4 separate regions of the Homo sapiens genome follow, and all the other regions are linked to region 2. Evidence: promoter capture Hi-C in 16 types of primary human blood cells and fetal thymus (Javierre and others, 2016). All regions are on one chromosome and are shown on one strand. The core of a region is centred on a gene start or on the middle of the fragment in contact, and the rest is flanking DNA. Distances in the headings are between cores, read along the strand shown.

Region 1 (3,193 bases), core at 154-2,653, 320 kb after region 2:
TGAGAATACACATTGGACTAGAATTTCACTAGTTTCCAAAGATGGACACCATACAGGAAAGTGTGCCAAAAGGAGAAAAAGCAAATAGTAAATTTGATATGTGCAAAACTTAAGGTGACTATAAGGAAGTTTGTGGTCAGTGTCTTAACTCTCTTCTGCATTTGAAAGATTAGTAATACAACACATTAAAGTTTTTCAACATGGCAGTCCTATGGGGAATCAACCATGCTGGAAACATCACCAGCCCACAAAATCATTGCCAGATTTTTCCCACATCACAGCAGTAACACTACTTCTGAGAATGAGAAATGACCCTCCAAGAAGTTTAGTACCCCCGTCCTGCCAGGTTTCCAATTTTTACTAACACTTTTCTTTGTGCACAACCTGTATTAATTCACATGGATGTTTTAGGCTCATTATTACCATTAGTCATGGGATCACAGATACACACAGTAGTTTAAATAAGTTAGAGGAAGCCTGTATTTAGTACAAGCTGTGAATTAGAGCTGAATCTTCTAACTTGCAGCTAGACAAACTCGTCCCAAAGAATGCTTGAGAAAAGTGGAATTCCACAGACTGGTTTATCTTGGATAATGGCACAGTAAACAGAACAGTGGAAACCAGGCCAGGAGGAAGGGACCGATGCTTCTTCAGGACAGGTCCTTGCTGCATTTGCTCTATCTCATGCCCAGGAGGATGTGCCTACTCCTGGGAGCTCAATTCACATTTCAGAAATGCTGCTGTCCATCGACTCACAGCATACTGGGCAATGCCACTTGCAGACATGAAGGAACGGGGGCTTCAGGCAACCTGGAATGACTATATGTAATTCTATGCCCTCTTGCTGGGGATACAGTGTTCTGTGGTGAGAACAAACCTTTCATCAGCTTAGGAAGTGTTGTGGCTCAGTCTTTTAGCATTTAGGGGTCAAGGGTGGGAAATGGTTCATCCCAGAAGCAGCTCTTGGTTTTCAGTAGATGTTTTATTTTCTTTCTAATGTTTTCCAGCTGAGTCGATTTCAGACCGATGGAGGTCAAATGATTTACACTGATGCCCAGTGAAACAGAACAGCTGGGACTTGAACTCGGGGACTTGACTGGTGGGCAGCCCCCAGCCTAGTCAGTCAAATGCTCTCCTCCCAGGTTTTTACTGCCTCTCTGGTTGCACCTCAAAGGCAGCCTGCTGTGTCTGGCAGGGCCCATCTCCTGGGCCGTGTCTGCTCCTGACTGGAATAAGAGGCCTGTGACAGGTCAAGTCTGAATGTTCTGGCAGAGCGGCACAGGGCAGACTGCTCCACCCCTGCTCAAAGCACACAGCGTCTGGTGAAAGCCAGATTGAAGATAGCTAAATGCGCATGCCAAGATTCCAAAAGGAAAAACTTAGCTCTCAACTTTCCTTTGCATGGTGATTTTTCATCCTCTCCTTTTTCTTTTTGTAAAAAGGGAATCCCCATGTTTACAAGTTGAAATCCAAAATGCACAAGTGGTCAGTTCACAATTCTGTGACCCATGAACATCTGTGGGCCTGGGTGTTCCTTGGGAATCTGCAGTGCTTGGAGCAGTGAGCCAAGCCTGCCCTGGCAGAAGGGAATTCTCCAGTGAGTCAAATAGTCCTGCGAGTGCCCGGGGTCTGCTTCTCCTCTGGTTCTGCTTTCCTGGGACATGTCTGTACTTGACTTCCCCTAGTTTTATGAACTGCATTTTGACTATATTTTTGGAGGTGGGTCCATCTGAAACTCGTTACAGGAAGTAGGACAAGAATCTTCATTTTGCCTTTAAGAGAAATAAAACTCTGTAATCTGAGATGGGCAAACATGCTCCAAGTCTGTTTACCAAGGAACAAGAACCTCTCTGTGTCTTTTGAGCAGACAGAAAAATTAAAAATAAAATATTTATTTGGGATTTGTCTCTGAGGACTTCAGTGACTGAAAACCAATAGGGCCTCCCCTCCCTCTGTGGAAAGGCGAGTTCCAAAGCCCCGGCTCCCAGGAGAGCCCTATGGTGAGGCTGCTCCAGTACAGCAGGTGGCAGTGGGTGTGGCTGAAAGTGCCTCATCACTTTCATTCTGGATCCTAGGTCTGTAGATGGGCTTTGGCTATATCATCTTTTTAAAGTTTTAATTTGGTAGCTGCTTCAAAAGTTAAGGGAACCCTCAATGGGCAAAGTTAGCATGTGACATATTTGTGTCTCCTCTTTGGACCTTGGTTTTCCTTGTCTGTAAAATGAGGGAATGGACCAGATCACTGCTCCAGAGCCCCAATGCAACTATAGGAATCTGCACTTTGAGGCTTGCTTCTCTCCTAGTAGGAATTCAGTTCCTCTGCCCTAACTTTTCTGCTATAGTCTGGGTGTTATGGGCTGAATTGTGTGTCCCCCACAAATTCATATATGAAAGTCTTAACCAAGTATCTCAGAATGTGAGCATTTTTGGAAATAGGATCTGTATTAGTCTGTTTTCACACTGCTAATATTAAGACATACCCAAGACTGGATAATTAATAAAGGAAAGAGGTTTGATTGATTCACTGTTCAGCATGGTTGGAGAGGCCTCAGGAAACTTACAATAATGGCAGAAGGGGAAGCAAACATGTCCTTCTTCACATGGTGGCAGCAGCAAGAAGAAGCGCCCAGCAAAAGGGGAAAAGCCCCTTATAAAACCATCAGATGTCATGAGAACTCACTATCACGAGAACAATAGCATGGGGGTAACCACCCCCATGATTCAATTATCCATCACCGGGTCCCTTTCACATGTGGGGATTATGGGAACTACAATTCAATATGAGATTTGGGTGGGGACACAGCCAAACCATATTAGGGTCTTAAACGAAGTCATTAAGTTAAAATGAGGTCATTAGAGTGAGCCCTAATCCAATATGATTGCGGTCCTTAGAAGAAGAGATCAAGACACAGACAGGCACGGGGGAAGGACACGGGAGGATGCAGGGATAAGGTGCCCTCTGCAAGCCCAGGAGAGAGGCCTCAGGAGGAACCAACCCTGCCAGCACTTCAATCTCGGACTTCCAGCCTCCAGAACTATGGGACAATACACTTCTGTTGTTTAAGGCAACCAGTCCGCAGCACTTTGTTACGGTAGGCCTAGCCGACTAACACCACATGATATCACAATGAATGTGCTGGGCTGTGAAAGAAGTTCTGTGTGTTTTTCTTAACAGACTTGGATTTTTGGTTTT
Region 2 (3,385 bases), core at 1-2,500:
TTTTATATTTTTCTGTGGAATTGATCCTTTTACCATTACATAATAATCTTTGTCTCAAGTTTTAGACTTAAAAATCTATTGTTTCTGATATAATTATAGCCACTTTTGATTTCTTTTAGCTACCATTTATATAAAATCTTTTTCCATCCCTTCACTTTCTGCCTATGTGTGTCTTTAAATATAAAATGAGTCTCTTGTAGATAGTATATTATTGGATCCTGTTTTTATTTTTATTTCATTTTAAACAAAAAGTTTATTTAAATAAGAAGCCTGACTTGAAGGAAAAACTTTCTAGGATTCTTTCTTTTTTTTTTAGAGTAATTTATCCCTACTTAAAGACAGATTGCCCTACATGTAACAGCTATGTACACAAAAGTTATAAAATTGTCCTTGGTTTTACAATGATAAATGAAAAACATGAAAATCCTCCAATTGAACAAGGTATGTGAGAATTTTTTTTTGTTGTTGTTAAAACAGTGAGAGCAAAATAACTTACTAGAATATAAAGATAAGACCTGAATGAACATGCCACTAATGGATAAAGGGGGTATTTTCACAGAATCAGTATTTTTTCCCATCCTGTCTCCACTTGATGTCAATCAAAACATACCATTGGCTGTTTGGTTTGAAGAAAAAAGCAATATGCTTGTGTACACATACCAGTTACTTCATGTATAATAAAAGAATGTGGAAGGGGGAAACAAAAGAATAGAGAAAACTATACTGTAGTAGTCAGAATGTGGTGGAACCAAATTGCAGTTTTCTAATTGAGAATGCAGTAATCTTGGTCTTTAAAGAACAGCGTTCTGGAGTAAAGAAGCAGGTTCCCTTTTCAGTAGACACCTCCCGTAGGCTGTTGAAACACATCAATTGTATCTTCATCTTCCATTTCCAACTGTGCAGGTTTGTCTGTTCCACTGATTGGTTGCCCACCAAATCGGAATCTGATCTGCTTCACTGACAATCCCCGTGGTTCACAATAGGCTTTCATTAGTTTACTAAGTGGTGTCTGCCTCTTAATCTTAAACTGCACCACAGAACCATCCTGTCCCGCCACCTTCAAATTAATATGATTGTTGTTCTCAGTCTTGACTTCTTCTGTGGGCTTTTCGTTGGCCATGGTGAACACCGGAGTCTCCTCAGCTGCTGCTTCACAAAAGAGGTGGCGGGTCCGCACCTAACGAGTACACGAGCAGCAGGAAGAGCAGCAGGAGGTGACAGCGGTGGATGAGGGAGAGGGTGCGTGCACATCCTGGGCTCCCTCCCCTCCCGCTGTGTGCGCCAGCACGAGCTGTTGGGGCCTCCCATTGGCTGCTGCCAGATCCTGTTTTTAAAATCCATTCATACAACTCCTTGTGAGTGGTGAGTTTAATCCATTTCCAGTTAAGGTAATTACTAATAAGTGAGGACTTACTATTGGCAGTTTGTTGCTTCCTGTCTATTTGACAACTGTTTTGCTCCTCTTTTCCTCTTATTGTCTTGTTATTCGACAACGTTTAATCGTGATTTACTTTGATTATATTTGGTTATACTCTTCTATTTTAAGTTGATAACAACTTAACTTCAAATGCATACAAAAATACTACTGCATCTTTACAACCTCCACCCTCCCACACTTTTGTGTTCTTGCAGTTTTCTTCTTTTAATATTATGTATCCATTAACACATTTTTACCTTTTAACTTTCTTATTAGAGTTGAAAGTAAATTATATACCACGGTTAAGTGTTAATCTGTAAATATGTCTATATTTTTACCTTCAGCAGTGATATTTATGTACCTGTTTCCATTTCTACACACATTTTAATGCCTGGATCAAAACACACAGACATACTTTGAAATGTCTTAGTTTGGTGTGCATATATTCTGAGAATATCAATGATGTAAAATGATAGAAGGTAGAAAACTATTCACCTGGAATTTAGGGTATTTTGATTACTTAAAGTTATATATAAATTAAACTAAATACTCATGGGGGGGGGGAACTTCCCTAAGGTATCTTCCTTATCATTTGTCTAAAGTTTTAAATGATACAAATTTTTGTACTTAGTAATTGTTTTTTAACCAAGACTTGCTATTATTGGTTGGGAGTACATAGTGTTTCCTAAGCTCGTGCATATTACTTTTAAAAAGCTAAGAATATTACATCTTTGCATCCTTCCCAACCCCAAGCATGTAAATGAAAATAAGCAAACATCTTCTTAATGAATTCATTTAAGAATGCCAAAGTTTGAAGCAATTCTAGAGAGGAAGGTTGCTGAACAGGAAAAATTTTCTAAAATTTTGCTTTTCAAAAGTAACAGTTTTCACATTTAATGGATACACTAACCTTTGGGTTTTGGTGGCACAGGACCTACAAATCCAATATTGTCATAAAAGTTATGAATAGCGCTGGGGTTAAAATGTGGTCCTGAAATATATAAAAAGTAAATATATCAATGCTTATAGCTCAAAAACAACTTTACTTTTTAAAACAAGTATTTCTTTCTAAAAATAAACACGCTATAAGAAATGCTTTTCATTTATTTTGCCCCTCTAACCTCGAATTATATGTAAGATTTCAAAACATATTTCAAATATATTATCTTAGGTATAATGTAGTACTCATAAACACGGGTAAGTGGTAAACTGTGAAAGAAGTCAAATTAATGCTGGTAAGACATTAATAGAAGTAGAAGTAGATCCCTGTTCTATGTGGCAAGTTAAAATAACTTAAAATTTCACAATTTAAAATGTAATTTTAAACGATCAAACATGGACTTAAGTAACTAAACAGCTTTACCTCAAGTAAATATAAAAACCTTGCACTATGTAATAGAATGGTTAAAATTTTACACAAAAAGAGTAAGTTCAAGGATTGTAGTTTCTAGAACAGCACCAACTTTTTAGAGTTAAATTATGGTATTTTTCTATGAATGTTTAAAGATAAATAGCTTAATCAACATTTAAAAAGAATAAAAATAAAAATAATCATCTTCCAGTTGAACAGATTCTAGAACACAGTCCCAAGTGTGATTAAAGACTTCTCTTTTGGTTAGATTCCTTCCCCTTCCTGTCTTTTCCATTTTATATCTTTTTATTATTTATCCAACTTCAGAATTAGGTTTAAGTGATAACATTTCCTTTTAGTTCTCTATGGAACTGAATTAAATTGTAAACATTATTTACTATAAGAAAACATTGCTTGTCATTAATAGCTCAAGTATAAGAAACTATCATTGTCTAAAGAATGTATAAACCTTATTTTTACTATCTTCTATATTTTATCAGTTAAGATAGTGCCATTGAGATGGGGGTGACTTTTTAAATATATTCTTAAAAGTCTGTCTGGCTCCAAAGCCACATGTTCTGAGACAGTAAGATTATGATTGATAAGTCTGTTTTTAG
Region 3 (3,492 bases), core at 631-3,130, 300 kb after region 2:
TGCTAATTGTTTTCTAGTTTTTTAAAAGTTCATTTCTCTCTTTTTCTCTGTCTTGTTGTCCTTGTGGTTGGATGAAATTCTATCATGTTGTCATTTGATTCGTTTCTTTTCCTCCTTCGTGTGATTGTTTTATAAGAACAGTGCATTTTACAGTTCCATGTGTTTTGTGATGGTGAATATTGACCTTTTGTTTCCATATTTAAGATCGCTTTGGACATTTCCTGTAGAGTGGGTCTAGTGGTGACAAATTCCCTCAACGTTTGCTTGTCTAGGAAAGCCTATATGTCTCCTTCATTTATGAAGCTTATTATGGCAGGATATAATATTCTTGACTGACAGTTATTTATTTTATTTTATTTTTTTCATTTCAGTACTTTGAAAATGCAATCTCATTCTCTTCTGGCCTGTGAGGTTTCTGCTGAAAAGCGTGATGGTGTTTCCTTCATAGGAGACTAGACAATTTTTCTCTTGCTAATTTTAAAATTATTTCTTTCACTTTGACTTTAGACATTCTAAATATAATATGCCATGATGAAGTCCTTTGTGCAATGTATTTACCTGGAGATCATTGGGCTTCCTGGATCTCGATGTCTAAATGTCTTGATAGACTTGGGAAGTTTTCATCAATTATTTTCTTAAATAGGTTTTCTAAACGTTTTGATGTCTCTTCCTCCTTGGGAATAGTGATAATTCATAAGTTTGCTTGTTTTATATAGTACCAGTCATCTTGAAGACTTTGTTCATTTTAAAATTCTTTTTTCCTTATTTTTGTCTCACTGGATTATTTCAAAAGACCTGACCTCAAGTTTTGAGATTCTGTGTTCTACTTGGTGTAATCTATTATTGAATCTTTTGAATGTATTTTGCATTTTCTTCAATAAATGTTTTAGTTCCAGAATTTCTGCCTTTTAAAAAGATATCTGCCTGCTTGGTAAGTTTCTCATTCATAGCCTGAGTTGACTTTCTAGTTTCTTTGTATTGGTTTTCAGATTATCTTGCATCTCATTGAGCTTCTTTAAAATCAATATTTTGAATTCTTTATCTGGCATTTTGGGGAATTCGTTTTGATTGGGATCTGTTGCTGGGCAATTCTTATTGTCCTTCGATGATGTCATATTTCCCTGTTTTTCATGTTTCCTGTGTCTTTCTGTTGATATCTGCTCATCTAGTATAGTAGTTGCTTGTTTCATTTTTTTTGAAATTGCTTTTGTGGGGGAGAATTTTTTCTTAGGAATGTATGTATGTTGATTGAGTAAACTACTTTGACTTTGATTTTGGTTGCCTGTGGTACTGTGATCTTTGTGTGACTTCCTTGGCAATATACAGTATCAGTGGTATCTGTGATTTCCTTGGTGACTTAGGGTACAGTTATTAGTTGAGGTTGTGGTGAAGTTTTGCTGGGGACTTGGACACCAACTGAGCCAGTCTTCAGGCCCAAGTATCAGCAGTGGAATAAATGTGCCTCTTTTTAGGCACTGGCTCTGGTGTTAGTGGACTCTGGAGCACTGATGCTTGGGGCTCCAGGTGGCTTGCTTAGAAGCTAGTAGTAATAGTAGTGGGCTAGGTGTGTGGGTGGGTTCTCAGGCCCCTGGGAAGCTGGTGTCATGTGGGTGATGGCAGTAGCAGTGGTGGAGCAACCCACTGGGACCCAAGCAGTTCAAATAGGTATTGCTAGAAGCTGCAATAGGTTGGGTGAGCCAGTCCTCCACCCCACAGATGCCTGTAGAAGGGTAGTGGGTATTGTCCTAAGTGTGCTTAAGGGAGCTTGGTCTCCCCTGTCCCTTCCCTGGCTGGGTGGCAGCTGCAGCCTCATCACCTCTACTTGGTCTGAGGGTGGGGCACAGCCCAGGGTTAAACTCTAAAAATCATGCTAGCTGTGGGCTTGCGACAAGAGAATATGAGGGCCCACTAAGGCAAGCAGTGTGTGCAAGAAGCTATGGGGAGTGCAGCCCATTCAAGTCTGAGTTTCATAGCAGCCCATAGCAGAGTGGTGGATATTGTTTTAGGTATGCATAGGGGAACCTGGTTTTCCTGTCCCTCCTTGGCCAGGTGGTGGCTGCAGCCATGTTAGCCCAAGCTCAGCCCAAAAGTCTCAAGCCCAGCATTAATGTCTTAAAATAGTGTCTTGGGCTTGGGACCAGGGAGGATGGTATCCATCCCAGGCAAGCAGCATAGGCCAGAAGCTGTGGGGAGTGTAATCTACTCACATCTCAGTTTCATAGCAGCCCACTGCAGGGCAGTGAGTATTCTCCTGGATGTGCATAAAATAGCCTGGTTTCCCTGTCTCTCCTTGGCTGGGCAGCAGCTGCCACCATGTCAGCCTGAATTCAAACCAAGTGTGGGTCATAGCACAGTGTTAAATTCTCAAAATGGCACCTTGGGCTTACCAGAAGGAGCAGGGCCTTAAGGGCAAGAAGCTGTGGGAGGTAATACACATTTTTGGAATGTCTCCAAATGTGAAGTTCTGAGTAGCCACTGGTAGGTGAATGAAGGAATAAGCCCTGCAGAAGTTCACAGGGTAGCTGGGGGAGCCAGACATGAATGCAAACTCTGAGGGCAATATTAATAGAACTGAGTAAATAGCTATTAGAATGAATAGACAATTAGCTAGAATGATTTTATCCACAATAACTTTGGATCAATGGGGATTCATTATCTGTAACCTCCAGGCTCTTCACTTTGAACATGGACAAAGACACCTGGATCATTGAGATTCTCAGTTAAACAGCACATAGCTGAGTATACAGTCACCAGAAATCCTAAGATCTTACTTGAATGGTCATTGTATTGGCTTAGTTCTTACAATCTCAATGATTGGTGCTTCTTTAATGACTGAGAGTCTGGCTTGGGTGCCCCTTCTCTTTTTTTCCATGACACCCTTTGGCTGAAGAGAATAGACACAGCAGTAAAGGGAAGGACAGGAGAAACAGTGTCCCTGGAGGGTCCTTAAGACTGGTCATTTCCTTATGCTTCTTTAAGAGTTGAATGTGTGATGAGAATTTCCCCTTTCTGAAGGTGCAGGCTGCTGGGAAAGAATGTGTGTGCAGGGGTAGTGGTGGGGGAGATGTGTGGGGAGATAGGACAGGAACACACTTCTTTCTGCTTTATGCATGAAGGGAAAACCACACAGATCTATCCCATCGTGCTTTAAGCCTCCTTAACACTGGAAAGCACTATCTCTACTCAGGGCACCAGCCACTCTGACCTTGAATGTTTTCTATACAAAGTATATACATCAATAGACAGCTGGCATCCACCATTTTTAACTACACTGGACCTGTCTGGGAACAATAATAAACCTTTATCATCCCACGCAGCATTTCCAAGCATATGGTCATTGATGCTTGCTCCAAACTTGTTCAATAAATTTTAGAATAAATTCTTTTTTTCTTATGTTGGCTTAGAATTCAAATAATTTCTGTTGCAGTGTGATCTCAACCTCAGTGCCAGAAGCTTTCCTATGCAGCTTCCTTTTCTTTATATAGTGACTGT
Region 4 (3,205 bases), core at 24-2,523, 380 kb after region 2:
AGTAGTGACAAGTATGTTTTAGGTATAAACAAGGGTTTGGTTCCAGTTACAAAGCTTTATATGGTGGTCTCCTGAGGCCTCTACAGACCCTGATTTTTAAATTTCATTATTTATAGGACATTTGGAGTCTCAAATATTATCTTGAAAGATTAATAGTAAACAGGAACTGAATTCCAGAAGGTTGAGAGACTAGGGATACAAAAGATTCCCACCGAGTACCAGGCTGGTGGGGTTCTTGCCCTTGTTGTGCGTACGTGCATGCCATGACCCTGCTTTAGCCCTTACCTGCATCTGGGATGCTGTCCACAAAAGTACGGAATGATGTAAAATAACCTGGGGTTGGAGCACTCGGGATAGTTTTCAAGAATACACTCATTGATATCCTAGAAGAGAAAATACAGCAGTCAGATGTCTTGTAGTCTCTGCAAGGCTCTATCAAATGCCACACAGTTTAAGTAAAATTCATGATTGAATTACACAGGCACGCCTTGAGAAGATGAAGAGAATTCACAGATTTCATGAGAAAACTTATTTTTTGCCTCCCAGCATCCTGCTCCACTGGCCAGGCACACACAGGGCTGGGCCATTTTAGAGAGTGCATGCTCTGTTGAGTAAACTGCATCTCTGCACTTCCTGGTGGCTCCGAGTCTTAAGTTTGGTCACAGGCCTTGGGAGAACAGTGGTACCCACTGTGCTTCGTGGTGGCGCCACCAGTTGCCAGCCAATTAGTAGGTATACAGTTGGCAATTAATAAATGTTTGTTGCATGAATTTAGGGCTTCTCTGTGTATCCATGCATCCAACAACTAAGTACCTACAATAGTCTCATAAGAGTTTGCAAATTTTAGAGGAGCTGTAAAATCACTTCTAACACTATATTAGCTTAAAAAGTAGCAGGATGTTTATATACAGACACCCTCTCACTTTCAAAGGCAACAGTTGTGACGTCCAGGTTTTCCATTTCTCTTATATGAGGTTGGACATGGTGTTTCTGAGGGCGTTACCAGAGCTTGAAATGGCTTGGTGGGGGTAAGCAGAAGGGCTCAAAACCAACTTTTATCAAGGTAGATCATATTAGAGATTCTAAATAAGACATGCCTCATTCTCAGGTATTTCTAAGGAGAAAAGATAACTCAATCTACAAATAAACCAAACAGCTGTAGGATGTTTTTCCAGAGACTATACTGGCAAGGCAGATTAAGACTGGACACAACTCCCAAATATGGTTGATGAAATTATGAGTCGGTAGAAGCTACTGTATCTGATATACATGTGTGGGTGTAGGTGTTTAGGTGTGGGTGTTTAGCTAGTAACAATTTTTTTAGTTCAAATTGGGAATGAGAGAAATATAATTTATGCTTTTTCTTAAAAACAATAATCCCCTCATACTTCTTCAGTTTATATGCCAATTAAGTAAATTACACAATTACAATAACAAATTCAACGGAAATAAACAGAATCTGCAAAAAACACAATTGAGAGTACTCAAGCACTTGAGTTTACCATGAGAGGCGGAGGTGCAGTTTCCAGGGAGGAACATATGAGAAGTGAATAGGGGGGTGCATATGTCTGTCCAGCCATGTGGTGAGGGTGATTAAGAGCATCTCATTGTGTATGAAAACCCATTAAAATGCAAGACACTAGACCTGAAATACCTTTCTAAGAAGAGTTTGACACTGACAGATGTGTGTGTGTGTGTGTGTGTGTGTGTGTGTGTGTGTGTATATATGGATATTCATTGCTGCAATGAGTTTATTTATTACAACAAAATATGGCAGAATTTACATGTTCACGAACGGGGGATTGGTTTTAAGAGAAATTATGGTACATTCACACACTGAAATACTGGATACCTGGAAAAAATGAGAAGGATCTGTGTGTGCTATCCTGAAAAGTCTTGGATAAATTTTCAAGTGAATGAAAGTATAGACTACAGGACAATATAAACATGTAGGACAATATAAAAATCAACATGTTTACATAAACACAAAAGGATCTGGAAGGAGACACAGCACACGATTGAAAGCAGTTTTTTCTGGTGGTTGGCATAAAGGAAGATGAGAATATACTGAATTTTTCCTTATTCCTTTTTTGAAGTGTTAGCTTTTATTACAATGTACGCATCTTACTTTTTTTGTTTTTTTTTTTGAGACAGAGTCTTGCTGTCCCCCAGGCTGGACTGCAGTGGCGTGATCTCGGCTCACTGGAAGCTCCACCTCCCGGGTTCACGCCATTCTCCTGCCTCAGCCTCCCGAGTAGCTGGGACTACAGGTGCCCGCCACCACACCCGGCTAATTTTTTGTATTTTTAGTAGAGATGGGGTTTCACCGTGTTAGCCACGATAGTCTCCATCTCCTGACCTCATGATCCGCCCGCCTCGGCCTCCCAAAGAGCTGGGATTACAGGCGTGAGCCACTGTGCCCGGCTGCATCTTACATTTATTGTGAGAAAACTGTACAGAGATTTACACACTGTGAAACAAACCAAAGCTTGTGCGGGCGGGTGCCTGTGCTTTGCCTTGAGGATGCTCTGAGCCCCCTGCCCTGCTCACATTTGAGGGTGTCCTCTGGTAGTTGGCCTCCCCTTGGAACCTGAGCCTTTAGTCCGAGGGACCCAATAACCCTGGTGGCCTCCCTCTGCAGCAGTGGCAACAGGGAGGGGGCCAGGAGCTGGGTGAGAAGCAGAGCCTAGGGTGATTCTGGCCAGGACAGTGTTCATCTGCTGAGGTCGAGATTTCACAAAGAAGGACGGAGTAAAGTGATGGGGAACATCCAAAGAACTGTCACATACGCAGTCAGCCCCCCAGAGTCCTGCATTAACAGGAGGAGCAGGGCATCAGAGACCGCCAGAGCCTCCTACAGAGGCTCTCATGGCACCTGCTGCTTCTCCAGAGCTGCCCTTGAGCAAGTACTTGTGTGCTTATTTGTTTAGGTTGTAGGTCCCTCAGAGCACAGACTGTTCACTGCATCTCCAGTGCTCAGCACCCTGCCTGGACTAAAGCAGGAGTGCAATAGATACTGAATGAGTGAGTGAATAAATGGCAGAAGGAGAGAGACAAGGCACACTGCTCCAGAGCAAGAAAGGAAGCAGACACCTCTTCCATTTGCTGACCCTGCCAGGGTTTTGTCCTCAGCAACCCCGGGCTCATAGGAGTAGACAGAGGGCATCAGCTGGCTGGTGAGGGGAGGGCGGAGGAGGCACTGGGG

The links. The method cuts DNA at HindIII sites, captures the fragments that hold promoters and counts their contacts. A CHiCAGO score of 5 or more calls a contact.
Region 1: a fragment that was not itself captured here is called in contact with the fragment with the promoter of SUMO4 in region 2 in 13 of 17 cell types (activated CD4 T cells, total CD4 T cells, naive CD8 T cells and 10 more); the score reaches 16.5 in activated CD4 T cells.
Region 3: a contact is called between a fragment that was not itself captured here and the fragment with the promoter of SUMO4 in region 2, in 9 of 17 cell types (naive CD4 T cells, activated CD4 T cells, naive CD8 T cells and 6 more). The highest score is 11.1, in naive CD4 T cells.
Region 4: a fragment that was not itself captured here is called in contact with the fragment with the promoter of SUMO4 in region 2 in 1 of 17 cell types (non-activated CD4 T cells); the score reaches 6.9 in non-activated CD4 T cells.

What each region holds. Positions count from the first base shown.
Region 1 is chr6:149,078,454-149,081,646 of GRCh38, reverse strand. No RefSeq gene overlaps it. Among named protein-coding and RNA genes, the nearest start is that of UST-AS2, 47 kb to the right of the region's middle. RefSeq lists an enhancer at 1,555-1,674. The HindIII fragment of the contact is 6,234 bases long and covers 1-3,193 here.
Region 2 is chr6:149,398,127-149,401,511 of GRCh38, reverse strand. SUMO4 (small ubiquitin like modifier 4) reads right to left here and starts at 1,250. Exons shown (of 1, transcript NM_001002255.2): 1 at 234-1,250. The coding sequence starts at 1,120. The coding sequence ends at 833. TAB2 (TGF-beta activated kinase 1 (MAP3K7) binding protein 2) reads right to left here. Exons shown (of 7, transcript NM_001292034.3): 6 at 2,328-2,408. The HindIII fragment of the contact is 27,910 bases long and covers 1-3,385 here.
Region 3 is chr6:149,095,626-149,099,117 of GRCh38, reverse strand. No RefSeq gene overlaps it. Among named protein-coding and RNA genes, the nearest start is that of UST-AS2, 65 kb to the right of the region's middle. The HindIII fragment of the contact is 3,150 bases long and covers 306-3,455 here.
Region 4 is chr6:149,016,317-149,019,521 of GRCh38, reverse strand. UST (uronyl 2-sulfotransferase) reads right to left here. Exons shown (of 8, transcript NM_005715.3): 6 at 286-383. Among named protein-coding and RNA genes, the nearest start is that of UST-AS2, 15 kb to the left of the region's middle. The HindIII fragment of the contact is 2,434 bases long and covers 57-2,490 here.